Linked DNA regions of Homo sapiens: region 1 is linked to region 2. The links are contacts of gene promoters, found by promoter capture Hi-C in human tissues and cell types (Jung and others, 2019). All regions are on one chromosome and are shown on one strand. The core of a region is centred on a gene start or on the middle of the fragment in contact, and the rest is flanking DNA. Distances in the headings are between cores, read along the strand shown. Region 1 holds the start of ARHGEF15 (Rho guanine nucleotide exchange factor 15). Region 2 holds the start of FXR2 (FMR1 autosomal homolog 2).

Region 1 (3,127 bases), core at 615-3,114, 700 kb after region 2:
GCCGGGCATGGTGGCAGATGCCTGTAATCCCAGCTATTCGGGAGACTGAGGTAGAAGAATCACTTGAACCTAGGAGGCGGAGGTTGCAGTGAGCAGAGATCGCACCACTGCACTCCAGCCTAGGCAACAGAGCAAGACTCCGTCTCAAAAAAAAAATTTTTTTTTGGAAAAAATTTAATTGGCTTCATGCTGTTTTTATTGGGGCTTATTGTTTGGAAAATTAAGTCTCTTCTGGGATTACAGGGGAGTGCCACCATGCCTGGCTAATTTTTTTTTTTTTTTTGAGATGGAGTTTCACTCTTGTTGCCCAGGCTGGAGTGCAATGGCACGATCTCAGCTCACTGCAACCTCCGCCTCCTGGGCTCAAGTGATTCTTGTGCCTCAGACTCCTGAGTAGCTGGGATTACAGGCGAGTGCCACCATGCCCGGCTAATTTTTTTTTTTTTTTTGAGATGGAGTTTCACTCTTGTTGCCCAGGCTGGAGTGCAATGGCACGATCTCAGCTCACTGCAACTGCCACCTCCTGGGTTCAAGTGATTCTCTCTCCTCAGCCTCCAGAGCAGCTGGGATTACAGGTGCCCGCCACCATGCCCAGCTAATTTTTGTATTTTTTTTTTTTAGTAGAGATGGGGTTTCACCATGTTGGCCAGGCTGGTCTCAAACTTCTGGCCTCAGATGATCCACCCTCCTTGGCCTCCCAATCTGCTAGGATTATAGGCGTGAGCCACGGCTCCTGGGACATTTTTTATTTTTATTTTTTTTGAGATGGAGTCTTGCTCTGTTGCCTAGGCTGGAGTGCAGTGGCAGGATCTTGGCTCATTGCAACCTCCACCTCCTGGGTTCAAGTGATTCTCCTGCTTCACCCTCCCGAGTAGGTGGTAGTACAGGCGTGCGCCACCACACCCGGCTAATTTTTTTGTATTTTTAGTAGAGACAGGGTTTCACCATGTTGGCCAGGCTGGTCTCAAACTCCTGACCTCAGGTGATCCTCCTGCCTCGGCCTCCCAAAGTGCTGGGATTACAGGCATGAGCCACTGCGCCCGACCTCTGCACATTTTTTATTGTTTTCAGACAGCATATTGCTCTGTTGCCCAGGCTGGAGGGCAGTGGTGCGATCACGGCTCACTGTAGTGTCCAACTCCTGGGCTCAAGTAATCTTCCCACCTCAGCCTCCTGAGTAGCTGGGACCACAGATGTGTGCCATTATGGCTTTTTTTTTTCTTTTGAGATGGAATTTCGCTCTTGTTGGCCAAGCTGAAGTGCAATGGCGCGATCTCGGCTCACTGCAACCTCTGCCTCCTGGGTTCAAGCAATTCTCCTGCCTCAGCCTCCCGACTAGCTGGGATTACAGGCGTGTGCCACCATGCTTGGCTAATTTTTTGTATTTTTAATAGAAACGGGGTTTCACTATGTTAGTCAGGCTGGTCTCGAACTCCTGACCTCAGGTGATCCGCCTGCCTCGGCCCCCCTAAGTGCTGGGATTACAGATGTGAGCCACCTCGCCCGGCCTGTCCACGGCTAATTTTTTAAAAATCTTTTGTAGAGACAGGGTCACACTATGTTGCCGAGGCTGGTCCTCCCACCTTGCCCTCCCAAAGTGCTGGAGTGCTGGGATTATAAGGATGAGCAACCACGCCTGGGCCCCTGCAAATGTTATACCTCCCTGGAGGAGACAGACCCCAAGTCCACACTTCTCTCTTCAGTCCTACCTCCTGGCCCTCCCCTTTTCTCTCTCCTCTAACACACACACACACACACACACACACACACACACACACACACACGCCAGACACAATGGCTGGGTGGGGCTGAGGAACTGGCTTCCTCCGCAGAGATCTCAATCTGGGCCCTGAGTTCCCACCCCAGAATCACAGGAACACACACTTGGAAACCTCAGCCCTGCATTCCTCGCTCCAAGGGGCAGACAGGACAGGCTGAAAATAGCAACTGGTTCCAAAAAGATAAAGGTAAATTCATGGGGACCTACTGCAGAGTTAGGGAGGGAAGCCTGCGGGAGGGTCCCTGGGTGTGAAATAGGCGTTGGCTCACACCCGGCTCAGGAGACAGGTGGTGGTGCAAGTCGGGGAAAGATGGTGAGACTCGCCGTGGAGGGACGCACGCAGCATCCCTTAGCTGAGACAGAGGCATCCAGACACCCATGCTGCTCAGCCAGGCTCTGTGCCATTGCCGTCTTGTCCTCATCCCTACCCCTGTCCACCTCACCCCTATGAGCCCCGATCCACACAGCTGTGCAGGTAGAACCTGCGCACACACTTTCCAAGCCTGAATTTCAGCTTTTCCCCAGACCCCTTTAACCTCTGAGACCCTGGATACCTCTGTCTCCTGGGGCCCTGTGTGATGTGCGCATGTGGAGAGTGGTGTGGTTCGTGAGGGGGGGGTGTCCGGTTGGGAGGCGGATCTGATTCCTGTTTCCTGCCCCTACTCACTCAGCCCTGGGAGGTGACTGAGAGTGGAGGGGATTCAAGGGTGAGTGCTTGGGGCCCGAGTACCTGGGTTCCTAAGGGTGGGGTAGGGAAGGAAGTAAATGCAGGTACCCGAGAGGGGGTGGGATCCCTGAGGGGCAGGGGCTGGGGAGGAGTTGGCCAGTGGTCAAGACTACCGTGTGGGTCACTTTGCTAAATGACTTTCTGCCAGAACACAGAGGCCACTGAGCTGCAAGACCCATCATCTACAACCCCCTTGTTCCCCCCTCATCATTTCTCAAGGAGCCAGTCCGAGGCCTGGAGGGGTCTGACTCTCCTGCTGACCCCTGAAGGGAGTTTGGGGGTTCCTCTGCTTCCCAGCCCTGACCCTGCAGCCTTCTTGGGATTGTAGCCTCCTTCCTCGAGGGAGGAAGAGAAACCCAGGCCGCAGCGCCCTGGCCCGACTGGTCCTGTCCTTCGGTTCATTCTCCCAGCCACCTCCCCAGGCCTCTTGGCAAGACCCATGGCTGTGCTGGGCCTCTCTCTGTGACCAGACCCTAGGGCAGGCGGGGATGATCAGACGCAGGACAGGAGAGACCTCGCCAGGACCTCCTCATCTCCGGGGGTCAGAGGCTCCAAGAATCTTGATGGCAGGAAAAGGAGACTAAAAATAATCCGGAAAGGGAGAGTCCGGAGAGAGGAAC
Region 2 (2,861 bases), core at 167-2,666:
AGGAACCAAATCCTGGGCAAAGGGGGAGGTGAAATAAGGAAGGGTCTTTGAAAGATGATCCCGTCTTCCAAAAAAGGTTGTCAGATTCCCGAACTGGGATAGTTGGCCAAGAGTCTTCAAGAAGTGGAAATCTTAAGATAAACAGAAGGGAACCTCATAAGCTTCCTTTCAGAGATCCTTTTAGAGATTATGACTATGAAGCTTACATGCCTCAAGACGAAGAAACTATATGAATGACCTGAAGGTATCTGAGGTCTAAGTGAGACCTCAAATCCATTCCTGAGTAGAATGGTAGAGCAGTGGGTCTTGAGATCAAGGTGTGGTGGGGAGAGAGACTTGCGAAAGATGCCACCTTATGGCTGGCTGGGAAGCAACTTGACTGATCCAACCCAGGGTTCCTGAGGTCAAAGATGCCAAACGTCGTAAATGGATCTGACCATTTCTCCTTGGCTTGGGAACCGGAATATAAGATGAAAGTGGGGTGAGTGTTCCAGAGCCAGTAGGCAGAGGCCTCTCTGAGGAAGATGAAAGGATCTTTTACGGGACAGAGGGCCTTCCCAAAGGGACCGTGTGGAAGAAAGACAATTCTCCATGTGCTTGGATCGTGGGGAAGATGTGATTAAGGTCTAAGGTATGTCTTCCACCAGACAACGGACACAGTCAATTAGAAGCTGGGTAAAGGGGTCTCTCCTGCGGAGCGGGGAGCGCCAAGCCAGGGACAATAATGGCCTGAAGTTCATTCTCCCGGAGATGGGGGTAGAAGCAGGTGCAGGTGCCTTAGAGGGGTCAAAAATAAGAGGAACAGGGTTCACTCTAAGCGGTCTCCCAGGGAAGGCTGCGGGTTGGAGCAAGGGTCCAAGATTCTAAGGGCCAGGACTCAGCTCCAGAAGCTCGATCCCGCCCCACGCGTTCCTGCTCCGGCCAGGGGAGGGGGCTAAGGACCGGCGTCCCCAGTCGGCGCGCCGTCTCACCTTGTAGAAGGCCCCGTTGGAGCCGCGCACCTCGACGGGCAGTCCCGGCTCCACATCCCCCCCAGAGGCCAGGCCGCCCATGGCGCCGCCACCGCCTCCGACTCCCCCGGCGGCGGCTGCAGCAGCAGTCTGAGTGCGGGCCGGGCCAGGCCCCCGGCGTCTCCCCGGAGGAGGAGCCGGAGGGGGAGCCGCGGGGGGCGGGAGCCGGGCCGGCCCCACGGCGGCCCTGCCACAGCCAACGAGCAGGGGGCCGGGGCCGGGCCGCTCCCCGTCCGCCGCCGCCGCCTTGGTCTCCGCCACCGTGAGGGAAACGGCCGCCGCCGCCGCTGCCTTCGTCACCTCAGCTTCCGCCCGCCGCCGCCCCCGCTGCTGCCTCAGTCCCGGGACCCGCTGCTGCCGCTGCCGCTCCACAGCCTCCACCTCCCCCTGCCACCGCCGCCTACTGCGCAGGCGCACCGGGCACCCGCCCGCTGCGCGCGGGGCCCCGAGGGCCACCGCGCAGGCGTCAAGGTTAGAGCCCCAGCTAGCGCCAGCTAGCGCATCGGGGCTTCCACATTCCCTTTCACTCTCTCACTCCCCCTCCTGGTCGCTTGCTAGCGCTTGCGCAGAACAAGATTAGCCTTCTTTCTTCACCGCTCCACCGCCCAGCCACCCCGTCTCTTCCTTTCCCCGCCCCACAACACTGAGAACCAACCAATCAGGGGGAGGGAGGGGCCGGGCTCGCTCAGTCCGATTGGGCGGCGTCCGCACAGTCACACAGCGCTCAGGCCACACCCACTCCGCCGCCGCTGGCCCCACCGGGCTTGGACAAGTTAGGGATGGGCATGCGCCTGAACGACTGCTTGGTCACTTTCCCCACCTTTGTCTTTCTTGGTGCGCACGCTCCAAAAAGAAAAAAAAAAGAAGAGGAGTCGCCGCAAGGAAAAAGGTGCTTGGTGCGCACGCGCTGAGCTTTACCCTCTTCGCGTATGCATCGCCGATATTTTAAGAATCTGTAACTCTCTACTGTAGTAGATTTAACAGTCATGGCTCTTACCTTGAAGAGATTGTGATACAATGAAAGTTTTGGCCGGGCGCGGTGGCTCACGCCTGTAATCCCAGCGCTCTGGGAGGCCGAGGCAGGTGGATCACCTGAGGTCCTCGGATCACCTGAGGTCAGGGGTTCGAGACCAGCGTGGCCAAAATGGTGAAACCCACCCCCCCCCCCACCCCGCATCTAATAAAATACAAAAATTAGCCGGGCGTGGTGACACGCGCCTGTAATCCCAGATACTCGGGAGGCTGAGGCAGGAGACTACCTTGAACCTGGGAGGCAGAAGTTGCAGTGAGCCAAGATCGCACCATTGCACTCCAGCCTGGGCGACAGAGCAAGACTCAGTCTCAAAAAAAAAAAAAAAAGAAAGAAAGAATAGAAAGAAAGCTTTAAGAATAGTTTCAGACGGGCGCTGTGGCTCACTCCTGTAATCCCAGCACTTTAGGAGGCTCAGGCGGTGGATCACTTGAGCCCAAAAGTTTGACACCAGCCTCAACAGGGCGAAACCCTGTTTCTACTAAAAATACAAAAATTAGGACGGGCGCGGTGGCTCAGGCCTGTAATCCCAGCACTTTGGGAGGCCGAGATCACGGGCGGGCGGATCACGAGGTCAGGAGATGGAGACCATTCTGGCCAACATGGTGAAACCTCGTCTCTACTAAAATACAAAAAATTAGCCGTGGTAGTTCCAGCTACTCGGAAGGAGTCCCAGCTACTCAGGAGGCTGAGGCAGGAGAATCGCTTGAACCTAGGAAGGTGGAGGTTGCAGTGAGTGGATATCATGCCACCACACTCCAGCCTGGGCAATGAGTGAAATTTCTTCTTTAAAAATAATAATAATGGCAGGGCGCGGTGGC

The links. Contacts are between HindIII fragments. The study calls those that stand out against the background at their distance.
Region 1: a contact is called between the fragment with the promoter of ARHGEF15 here and the fragment with the promoter of FXR2 in region 2, in 1 of the 25 tissues and cell types used here (heart left ventricle).

Annotation. Positions count from the first base shown.
Region 1 is chr17:8,308,377-8,311,503 of GRCh38, forward strand. ARHGEF15 (Rho guanine nucleotide exchange factor 15) reads left to right here and starts at 1,865. Exons shown (of 16, transcript NM_173728.4): 1 at 1,865-1,967. RefSeq lists an enhancer at 1,859-2,359. The HindIII fragment of the contact is 11,979 bases long and covers 1-3,127 here.
Region 2 is chr17:7,613,481-7,616,341 of GRCh38, forward strand. FXR2 (FMR1 autosomal homolog 2) reads right to left here and starts at 1,417. Exons shown (of 17, transcript NM_004860.4): 1 at 972-1,417. The coding sequence starts at 1,052. It also overlaps a transcript of SHBG not described here. RefSeq lists silencers at 972-1,501, 1,612-1,661. The HindIII fragment of the contact is 5,915 bases long and covers 1,297-2,861 here.